Regions from separate parts of the Homo sapiens genome. Here region 1 is linked to region 2. The links are contacts of gene promoters, found by promoter capture Hi-C in blood cells and fetal thymus (Javierre and others, 2016). All regions are on one chromosome and are shown on one strand. The core of a region is centred on a gene start or on the middle of the fragment in contact, and the rest is flanking DNA. Distances in the headings are between cores, read along the strand shown. Region 1 overlaps LOC105375541 (a long non-coding RNA gene). Region 2 holds the start of FAM131B (family with sequence similarity 131 member B).

Evidence for each region. Contacts are between HindIII fragments. The CHiCAGO score rates a contact against its expected background, and 5 or more counts as called.
Region 1: a contact is called between a fragment that was not itself captured here and the fragment with the promoter of FAM131B in region 2, in 3 of 17 cell types (total CD8 T cells, total CD4 T cells and naive CD8 T cells). The highest score is 6.9, in total CD8 T cells.

The regions. Positions count from the first base shown.
Region 1 is chr7:142,817,272-142,822,708 of GRCh38, reverse strand. LOC105375541 (a long non-coding RNA gene) reads right to left here. Exons shown (of 2, transcript XR_001745392.2): 2 at 5,273-5,437. Among named protein-coding and RNA genes, the nearest start is that of EPHB6, 35 kb to the left of the region's middle. The HindIII fragment of the contact is 2,073 bases long and covers 1,237-3,309 here.
Region 2 is chr7:143,359,005-143,364,305 of GRCh38, reverse strand. It overlaps FAM131B (family with sequence similarity 131 member B), which reads left to right and starts at 1,593. Exons shown (of 7, transcript NM_001031690.3): 1 at 1,593-1,730; 2 at 4,157-4,266; 3 at 4,539-4,574; 4 at 4,887-4,980; 5 at 5,282-5,301. The coding sequence starts at 1,703. It overlaps FAM131B-AS1 (FAM131B antisense RNA 1), which reads right to left and starts at 2,600. Exons shown (of 3, transcript NR_183342.1): 1 at 2,249-2,600; 2 at 1,049-1,116; 3 at 41-405. The HindIII fragment of the contact is 5,612 bases long and covers 1-4,924 here.

The DNA of each region.
Region 1 (5,437 bases), core at 1,024-3,523, 540 kb after region 2:
CCAAGAAATCTTCTGTCATCTTTATCTTGTTCTACTGTACAAAACATGTTTTTATCCTGTGGCTGCTTTTAAGATTTTCTCTTTAACACTAATTTTCAGAAATCTGATTATGATATTCTTTGGTGTATTTTGTGTATGTATGCTTGAGTTTTGTCAGGCTTCTTGGATATGTGAGGTTCGAGTTTTATTGACTTTAGAAACTTTCAGTCATGATTTCTTCCAATAGTTTTTTCTTTCTTCCCATCTTTCTTCTCTTCTTTTAAAACCCCAGTTATGTTAGTTCACTTTAAGTTGTCCTGTAACAATTAATTGTCTGTTTCCTTTCAAAAATTATTTTATTTCCTCTATCCTCCATTTTTGGTTTGCCTTTGTTGCTATATCTTCCTAGGTTACTAGTATTTTCTTCTACATTGTCTAATCTATCATTAATCTCATCCAGTGTATTTTTCATCTCAGATATTGTCATTTTCATCTCCAGAAGTTGGCTTTGCAGCTTTTAAAAATATCTTCTATGTCTGCTTAACATCTCTAGCTTAACTATTTTATTTTTAAATTAAATTATTATTATTTTTTTACTAATTCTAACATCTGTGCCAGTTTTCCTTTCATTATACGTTGCATTTTTCTGCTATTTTTGTATGCTTGGTAATTTTTTTATTTTATTCCATACATTGAGTTTTAATTTTGTGTTGGACTTTTTATTTTTCTATAAATATTTTTGAGCCCTGTTTTAGAATACAGTTACATTTCTTGAAATAATCTGATGCTTTTGTACCTGGCTTTAATCATTTGTTAGATGACAGCAGAGCAGCATTTAGTTTAGAGATCATTATCCTCCACTTCTGAGCCCAAACACTTCTGAGCTCTTGTCCCAATGCCCCATGAATTTTAATGTTTTTGAGTTTGGCTGGTGAAACTATACACTATTCCCGGCCCTACATGAAATTCAGTTACTGTTTTCTTTAATCCTTTGTGTGGTTATTTTCCCAATCTCAGGTGGTTTTTTCACACTCATGCTCTTGTTAATACCCTACTGAATACTGAGGGTGGGCTCTCTGATGACCTCACAAATTCTCTCTTTGCCCGCTTCTCTCCTCTGCTATCCTCAGCCCTGTGAACTCTACTTGACTTATTCTCCTCTCAGCTGTGTCTCCTTGACTCGAGGAGTTTGATGGTTTCCCCCTGGATTTCCCCTCTCTGTGCCATGGCCTGGAAATTGTCTCAAGGTGGTAAGCTTGTTTTATTATAAAACTCACCTCATTTTTTCTTGTCCTTCCTTGCCTGATGTCTAATGTCTTGACAACTGGTGCTTTATGTATTTTGTCCCTTACTTTGTTTTCACTGGAAATAGAAAGTCAATTATTTTTAAAGAGATTTTTTAAATGGCACAAATACTGTTTTTTATATTTATTACATATTTACTAATGATATTCTATCTGTAATAGTCTGTAGTTGGTTTGTATCAGCTCATAGGACCCAGTTGTTAAATATCCAGAAATTCTGTGAACCAGTTGTTAGAAATTGTTGTTTGCTTGAATTTGGCCATGGTGGGAATATTTATATTCACAAAATTGGTCAAAATGCTATAAATCCAGGCTTTTCCCTTTTTTCCTTTTTATCCCTCACAGGGAGCTGGCTTACCAATTCCATCTGGACTTTTTTTCATTTTGTCTGAAAGACATCCTTTAACATTTCTTATAGTGTGTGTGTCTCCTGGCAAAGAATTATTTTAGTTTTTTCATGTCTGAGAAGTTTATTGTGCCAATGTTTTTGAAAGATATTTTCACTGGATATAGAGTACTAGGTTAAGAGGATTTTTTTTACTTTAAATAATTTAAAGATGTTTCTCCACACTCTTTTGCCTGAATTGTTTCTAGTGAGATGACTGCAGTCATTCTTAACTGTGTTCATTTGTACATAGTGTGTCTTTTATTCTCTGGCTGCTTTTCAAGATTTTTCTTTATTAGTTTTAAGCAATCCAATGATACTATATCTTGTTAAAGTGTTCTTCATGTTACTTGTGCTTGGAGTTCATGAAACTTCTTCAATCTGTGGCTTTTCCTTTTCATTAAATTTAAAACTGCTTCAGCTATTAGTTATTCAATTTCTTTTTTCTGCATTAGTCCTCCAGTTTTATAGGACTCTCAATATTAGGCTGCTTAATGCTGTTCTACAGCTCACTGATGCTCTGCTCACTTTTTTTAAGTCAGTTTCTTTCTGTTTTTATCCTAGGTGAATTCTATTACCTTATCTTTAAGTTTGACTTGAGATACCTAATCTGCTGTTAATCCCATCCAGTATATTATAAAATCACATTCATTGTATTTTGCATCGGAAGAAGTTTTATTTCAGTCTTTTTTAAATCTTCCACGTCTCTTCTTAACATATGTACACTCTCTTCTATCCTGCCGAACATATTGAATATATATTTAATAGCCTTGTCTGCTAACTCCATCATGTATATCATTTCTGGATCTGTTTCTATTGAGTGTTTTTCTCCTCCTTATGACCCATATTTTTCTTTTTCTTTGCATATATGACTTTTTAAAATTGGATATCAGATATTTGAATTTTACGTTTCTAGCTACTGGAGTATTTGTATCCCTTAAATAAATTTGGGACTTTATTTTGTGATGCAGATAGATTACATAGAAACAATTTGATATTTCTGAGTCTTGTTTTGGAGCTTTGTAAGTTGTATCTAGGACAGCCTTTAGTGTACAGCAAATTTGCTTCCCGCGACTGGGGTGATCCGCTTCTGAGAATTCTCCTCAATGCCCTCTGTGTTAGGAGGTCTCCCACTCTGGTTGATGGAAGCACCATCTTTTCCCGGCCCCGTGTGGACTTTGAGATGGTTCTGCTTGATCCATCGAGTGGTCTCTCCCTAGCCTCAGGTTGTTTTCTTGTACTCACTGGTCAGAGCAGTTGAAGAGTCACTGGGAGTCCAATGCACATTCCAGAGCACTTCCCACCCACCGCTTTCTCCTCCCTGGGTCTCTTCCCTGGAATTTTAGCCATTTTGGCCTCCTCAAACCCTGAATGCAAGTCTCCTTAACTCAGAGAGACTGCCAGGCGCTGTTTGGGCTTCTCCTCCCTATAATACTGCCTGAAAAAGATCTCCAGGCTATAAACTGAGGCCATCACAGGGTTCACTTTATTCATTTCACTTCTTTCAGGGATCACGGTCTTGAGCCATCTGTTGTCCAGAGTTTCATATATTTCATGCATTTTAATTGTTTCAGGTTTGAGGGTAAATTCAGCCTCTGTTACCCCATCATAGAATTCCCTCAGACACAGATGTGTTAAGCTTTAGGAAATTCTACTGTAACCTATCTTCATGTATTCTCTTCCTCTCCCTTTAGGTTCATCTTCTTACTGTTCTTCACCGATGTCCTGTACTTTCAGCCTCTGTACCTTTGGTCATTTCTGTACCATTCATCCTTTCTTGCCTTTTAATGTCATTTTTATCAGTCTAAAACCCTATGACTTCTCAAGGACCATCTCAGAGTCTGTCTCTTATGTGAAAGTTAAACTGAGCCTCATACCTGAAAGTAATCTCTTTCATAAACAAACTTTTTTGAGCTTATCCTGCTTGGGTTTTGCTAAGCTTCCTGGATCTGTAGGTGGATATTATTTATCATGTATGAAACATTTTGGCCACTATTTTAAAAATAATTGTTTTCTGCCACCACTTTCTCTCCTCTATGTTGAAGACTCCAATGATATGTGTGCTAGGTGGCTTGATATTGTTTGGGAGTTCCCTGAGACCTCTTCCAGTTTTTGTAGTTGTTTAGCTTTATTTTCCTCTCTCTTGTTTTGACAGTTTCTGTTGTCCTGATTTCCTGTTCATAGACATTTCTCCTATAGTGTCTACTCCAACTTAAGCTTATCTAGCAAAATTTTCATTTCAGATATTTTTCAGATCTAGAAGTTCTATTTAGCTTTTTTATAGTTTCTGTTTCATTCTTCATTATGTTGTGTTTCACTATAAATCCTTGAACATATTTAATAATAGCCATTTTAGTATATTAGCCATTTATAAGTCCCATTATTTTAATTTACCATCTCTGCCATTTCTGGGTTGATTTCAATTGCCTAATATTACTACTTAGCATAGACACATTTTCCAGCTTTTAAGTATATCCCATAATTTCTGACTGGATGCTCAACATTATGAATGTTACTTTTTTATTATCTGAATTTTGTTTTCTTCTCTCAAAGAGTGTTGAGCTTTATTCTAGTGGGCAGTTGACTTGCTTGCAGGTCAACTTGTCTGCTTTTCCTTTCAAGGGCTCTTTTAAGCTTTGTTAGGGTTAATGGACGGTAGACTTATTCTATGCCATTTGAGTCCTACTCTAAGTTATGGGCTTCCTGGGATACCTGTTCAATGTTCCAGGTATTCAACAAAGCTATTCTGATGGCTCAGAGCTGTATCTCTCTCAGCCTCGACCAAGATCTAGTAATTATTCATACTGTAGTTCACCAGCAGTTGTTAATTCTCCAGTACTTATTCTTTGCCTGCCCCTGTGGAGTTTCACCCAATGGATGCCAGCTTAGTATTTACCCAAAGACTCAATGAGACCTCATGAAAATTGCGGGGCTCTTTCCGTGCATGGCCTCCTCTTCTCTGAGCTGTGTCCTCAGCTCAGTAAGAATTTCAGGGTGCCATGCTCTGCTTGGGTCCCTCTTGTTTGTACAGTAACCCAGGAAATTCTGGGTAGAAAACGGAAATGATCACAGCACGCACCTCATTTGTCTCCTTTCACTTATGGATCACAGTTTTGTGCCATCTCTTGTCCAATATTAGAAAACAATTATCTCACGTATATTGCCCAGTTTTCTAGGTGTTTATTATTGGAGGGTATAATGGATTGAATTATACCCACCATCCCCCCAGAAAAAGATATGTTGACATCCCAACCCTCAGTACCTCAGAATGTGACTCTGTTTGAAAATAGGGTCATTGCAAGTGTGACTAGTTAAGATGAGGTCATACTGGAGCACTGTGGACTCCTAATATGACTGATGTACTTGTAAGAAGACAGCCGTGGGAAGACAGAAACACACAGGGAAAATGCCATGTAATGCCAAAGGCAGAGTTTAAAGTTATGTAGCTGCAAGTTAAGGAATGTCAAAATTTGCCAGCAAATCAACAGAAGCTAGGAATAGGCAAGGAAGAATTTCCTTCCAGGTTTCAGAGGAAGCATAGCTCTGTTGATACCTTGATTTTAGACTTCTAGGCTCCAGAACCATGAGACAATAAATTCTGTTGTTTTAAGTCACCCAGTTTGTGGTACTTTATTACAGCAGCTCAAGGAGAATTACAAAGTGGATGGATTGAGTACAAGTTCCTTCATCGTAAGTGGAAGCAGAAGTTCCTAACTCTTTTAGTATTTGTCATCTGAACTACTTTTCTATCTTTTACCTCCTCCAATAG
Region 2 (5,301 bases), core at 344-2,843:
TTCTTTTTTTTTTTTTTAATCATCTCTCCATCTTCTTTCCTTTGCGACTGGACAGTATATTCCATGAAAGCAGAAACTATTTGATACTTCTTTTATATAACCAATAATAGTAGATATGAAAAAAGAAAATGCTTTCTAATTCTCTCCACTATTGAAATAGGGTATCAGACCCTGCCACGAACTACACTAAACGATTAAAATCTAAGCAGACCTGCAACTGATTATTATCTCATTCCTTCCCGCGGTTTTATAGATGTAGATTTGGCTTATTTCTTCATGCACATACACCGAAGATGGATTCTGTCACCATAATCTCATCTCCTCAATCTGCAATTCAGTTGTTAGTGTCTTCTTCTTGCACATCTTCATCTGCCACCCCATGGGATGTAGCTCTCCATTCATAATCTAAAGGTTAGAAAGTTGCATCCATAAGACTTAGCCTCCCTGTTAGGAGCCCACACCAGGGACCCCTGGCCCATTGCCTTCTCTCTCTGCAACCTCGGAGAGACCTAAAAGTGGGCGAGGTGCAGTCAGAGCCTGGATGGGCACTTGCTTCTGTGAATGCCCACCTGCCCACTCTCTCACACTTTGGGCTTTCTGGGTACACCTTAGACAAAAGGGTCTCCTTGCCCTTTCTCATGCATCTTTTCTGGACTCCACTTCTTACCTGCTGTAACCACAGTGCTCATTTAACCCTTGCAACTTAGACCTTCATCTCCTCCCCATGGGGCTTGAGGTATCTACCTGGCCCAGTCCCACTAGCCAGAGGCCAATCTTTCTCTCTCTTTGCTGCTTCGGGACCGCCTTGCTTTCATTTGTCCGAGAAGATCACGTCTCAGAAAAGTTAAACTGGATTCAAGACGATGTCTCCTAGCCAGCCTCGGGTCCTGACATTGTTGTTAGTCTACTGCGAATGAACTGTCCTCCTCATATTCTCCAATCCCCAACCAGGCCTGGAGGTCAACTATCTGCACATCCCCACACCCACCCCTGAATGTCCAGCGAGCACAGAGAAGTGGACTACACGATTCACTTGCAAAGACTTCACCTTCTGTTTGGATGGACAAAATAGCGCACTCGAAACAACAGAGCCCAAAGCTGTGTCCAATCACGTTCCTGTGTGTGTCCCAGATGCGGCCCCAGGAGGAAAACAAGTGTTTGCGGAATTTGGTGGCCAAAGGCCCTTGGGCCTGGCTTTATTCTCACCACCACCCCACTTTCTCTCAGGGCATCCCCTGACCCCGGCCCGCAAAATCCATCAACCAGAACCTCGGGGTAGGCCCTGGGTTCGTGCCTCGGCTCCTGAAACCCAAGCCGGGGTTCTCCAGGAGAGAGCCCCGGGAGCGGGGCTTGGCACGGGCGGGAGGAGGGGGGCGGCGACGGCGGCCCCAGATCCCCGAGGGAGCGCCCCGGCACGGCCGGAGCAGGGGCGGGGAGGCGCGGGGCGCAGCCAATCCCCGGGCCGCCCCCTCCCCGGCCGCGGCGAGCCGAGCCGGGGCGGGGGAGCCAGGCGGCGGCGGCGGCGGCGGCGGCGGCGGCGACGGAGCTGCCGTGGGGAGGGATGGAGAGGGGAGGGGGGAGCGGAGCCGAGCGGAGACAGCCGCGGCGCTGCAGAGCGGCTGGGGCGGCGGCGCGGCTCCCGGTGCTCCCCCCGGCGCGCGCCCCGAGTCGGTGAGGGCCCGGCTCTGCGGCCCCCGGAGCCATGGGCTGCATCGGCTCCCGGACTGTGGGTGGGTACCGCGGCCGGGCGGGGGCAGGGCTGGGCCCCCCGGGCCGCCCTCCGACCCCCTCCCCCATCCCTCTCCTCGCGCCTCCGGGCGCCCCGCTCCGCACCCGCCTTGCCCTGCTAGCTCCTTCACTTTCCTTCCGTCCGCCCGCGGTCCCTCTGTCCCTCCTTCCTGCCCGCTCTCGTCTTGCGCCTCCGGGGCTGCCATCCCGCTCGGCTCGCTTCCTTCTCCCCGTCGCCCTCCCGCAGGCGCGGTCCTCTCCATCCTCTCCATCGCCCTCCTCTCCTCTGCCTCTCGGCCCGACGCTCGGTCCCCTCATCCCTGCCCCTCCAGGCCATCCGCCTCTGCTCCGCCGTCCCCAGCGCCTCCTCGCATCCCCCACTCCGGAGCAGCCCCCCGCGAAGGACCCTCGGCCTCCGCGCCAGCCCCGAGTTTCTTTCGCACGCCCCCCACGCCACCCCCCGCCGCCGCCTCCATCTGGCTCGGGTGCTTTGCCCCATCTCTCTCTCCCTCTCCGTTGCCTTTTACTGTCGTTCCTGCCTCCTCCGATTCGCTTTGTTCACGTGCGTTTTCCCTCTGGGGCGGGGGCGGGATGAGCCCGGGTTCCACGCCCGGAGGGACAGGGCCAGGGCCGGGTGGAGGGAAGGGGCTGGGGGACGCGGGGAGGAGATGGGGGCTTCGAGGCGCTGGGAGGGGTCGGGAGCCCGCGGCCCGGGAGGGTGGGGCCGGCCCTGCCTCGGCGGCCGGGGACCCGCCTGCACCTGTCAGCGGGGGCCGGCGGGGCGGGGCCGGCTCTTTATTTACCTTTGACGCGGGGAGGGAAGAGAGGCGCCTCCTAATCCATCTTCTCCCTCCAGCTTCTGCCTGGCTACCGCCCCTGACCCCCACCCAGGCACCCACTCCACTCTCGCCGCTCAGCGAATTCATCCGGCCCTCTCCCACCCCCTCCCCCATTCTTCCCCTTTCCAACTCCCAATTTCTCCCGCCTACACCTCCCGGTGACCTCAGGCTGAGAGAATAATTCGTATTATTATTACAAACAAACTCACTCTCCAGAAGCCTGATTTCCCTGAGACCCGGTTTATTTCCATGGATACCCCCTCCTCCTCTGCTTTCACCCCTTCTCCGCGGCTCTCTCCCTCCCCGCTGCCCCCCACAGCTCTGACTCAGCTCTCCGTCTCTCACAAAGGCCACCTCCCGCTCCCCTCTCCCCCCGCACCCCGCCCTCCCCTGTCTCCCTTCTCCTCAGGCTCTTCTCCACCTGCCCCATTCCTGCTGTGTCCGGAGGGCCATCTTTCCTCTTTTCCCCCAGTCACCACCCCGCGGAGCCCCAGGGGACAGCAGGCCAACTTTGGAGGGTCCTCCCTCCTCAGTCCGGTTCACCACAAGCCCCTTCCTTTCCCCCAGCCCTGCTGATGTGCTGAATGCCTCCTCGTGCCCAGCCCCATTCAATGCTCCCCTTCCCAAAAATGGAGCCGACCCCTAAACTCACAATTGTAAAACCTCATGAGTATAAAGGGCCTGTACGGTCAGATGGTTCAGGCAGCCATCTGCTGCTTGAATAGTCCCTTTATGAAGACCCAAGCAGTTCTTCCGCAAGACTCTCCGCGGCACCATCCTGCCCTCAGTCCAGGAGTCTCCCTCCACCAGGAGCTCTGGCCCGGCTGTAACAAGGACCCTCCTTCCCCTGAGTCCTGCAGTTTCCCACTCAGCCCTCAGACCCTGTCCACCCCTCCCACCATCTTCTGTCTTCTCTCTGACTTGAATTCCTATTTTCTTAATTCCTATTTTAAAAAGTTCTCTTTTCTCCTCCTGCTCACCAGCTTCCCTCCACTTTAATCCATCACTTCTCTCCCCACAGTCAGGTGAAATGCCTCCAGCTCACCCTTGGTTTCTCTGCTCACTGTTTTTGGGAGGACACACCCAACTCCTTGCTATCCAACTCCTGCCTCGATTCCCAGGAAGTCCTCTTCCAGTCAGTCAGACTCATGGACTCTTAGGAAGGGCCCACCGGGGGAGACACATCCCTTCCACCCTAAGCATAGAGAAAAGTTCCTCATAGAGCAGCTCTGCCCTTATCTGTAGACTTGTAATAGAGAAAAAGCCCAGCTCCCATACAGAAACCCTCCAAGAGTCCTCAGGACGGAATAATTGGTTTTCTGATAAAACCCAACCTCTGACCCCTCCACATAAACAACAACAAATAAGGCCATACATCACTTTTTCTGAGTGCACTATTCTGGGTTGAGCTAAAACTGAATATTTGGGCTCAGCATTACTACTTGTCTCCCCTAGAATTTGGAGAGTGCAGGGATATAAGAGGAAATGGGCAGCTGGGGTAAGGAAGGGGTGTGAAGGGCTGGCCCCAGGGTGTCGCCTCGGCTGCACAGGGAGGTGAGGGCCGGCGGCTAACCTTCTGGCCCCCTCAGGGAATGAGGTGATTGCAGTGGATTGGAAGGGCCTGAAGGATGTCGATCAAATCAACATGGACAGCACCAGCTCACTGCACGGGAGCAGCCTCCATCGGCCATCGACTGAGGTGAGACCTCACTCAGCCACCCCAAGTCTCTGGCTGCCTGCACTTCCTCAATTCCAAGGCAACAACCCAAACACTCCTTCAGACTGACACTTCTACAGAACATTTCTCACAACACATGCCAAGCAGTCCACATGGAGAACCCAGTTAGCGGCATCAACCTCAGGAAAGCCCTCCCCACATCCCGCACTCCTGGAAGGCCCTCTGAGGAAGGGGGCTTCCTTGCATTCCTGCGAGTGACTGGGATGCCCATTCCCTTTCCTCTCTCCTCACAGCAAACTCGAACTGATTTCTCCTGGGACGGCATCAACGTGAGTGCAGCTGCCCCCAGACCTCCCCATCCTCCCGAACTCCTCCTCCTCATCTTCTCCCTTGCACCTTCCAACCAGCACGGTATTCCCTGGCTCCAATAGGCACTGTGAGCACTCACGTTCTCAACCTGTGCCCCAGTTTTCCAGAGCACTGGGGATATATCCCTCCTTGGGACTCTTGGGTATAGTAGCTTTTCTTATCATCTGCCCTAGCTCGAATGCTTTTTCCTGGAAACCATGAACCTCCTCCATGTATAAAGCACGCCCGTACCTTCTTATTCCTCTGCCCTTCCTCCCACATTCCCATCCCAGCTCTCCATGGAGGACACCACTTCCATTCTTCCGAAGCTTAAGCGAAACTCTAACGCCTATGGCATTGGGGCCCTGGCCAAGTCATCATTCTCAGGTGAGACTCCTGATGTAAGAATGCCTTCAGACAAAATAATGCTGACAGACTCCTTGGCTCAGTCTCCCTGCTCCTTCGAGGTTGATGAAGACCCTCATCCCCACCCCCTGACCTATTCACCCTTCTGTCAAGCCTCCCATCCTCCAGGCCATTCCCTCCACTACCCCATCTATGGAGTCCTTAGGGGAGCCTGGCCCAGTGGGATGGAGCCTCATGGGGCTGGGGTGGGAGGAACTGGGAGGGTCTGGTTATGGGTATTGTGTGATATTCTGGAGGATGTGGGAAATGTCTGGCCCCATAGGGATCTCACGGAGCATGAAG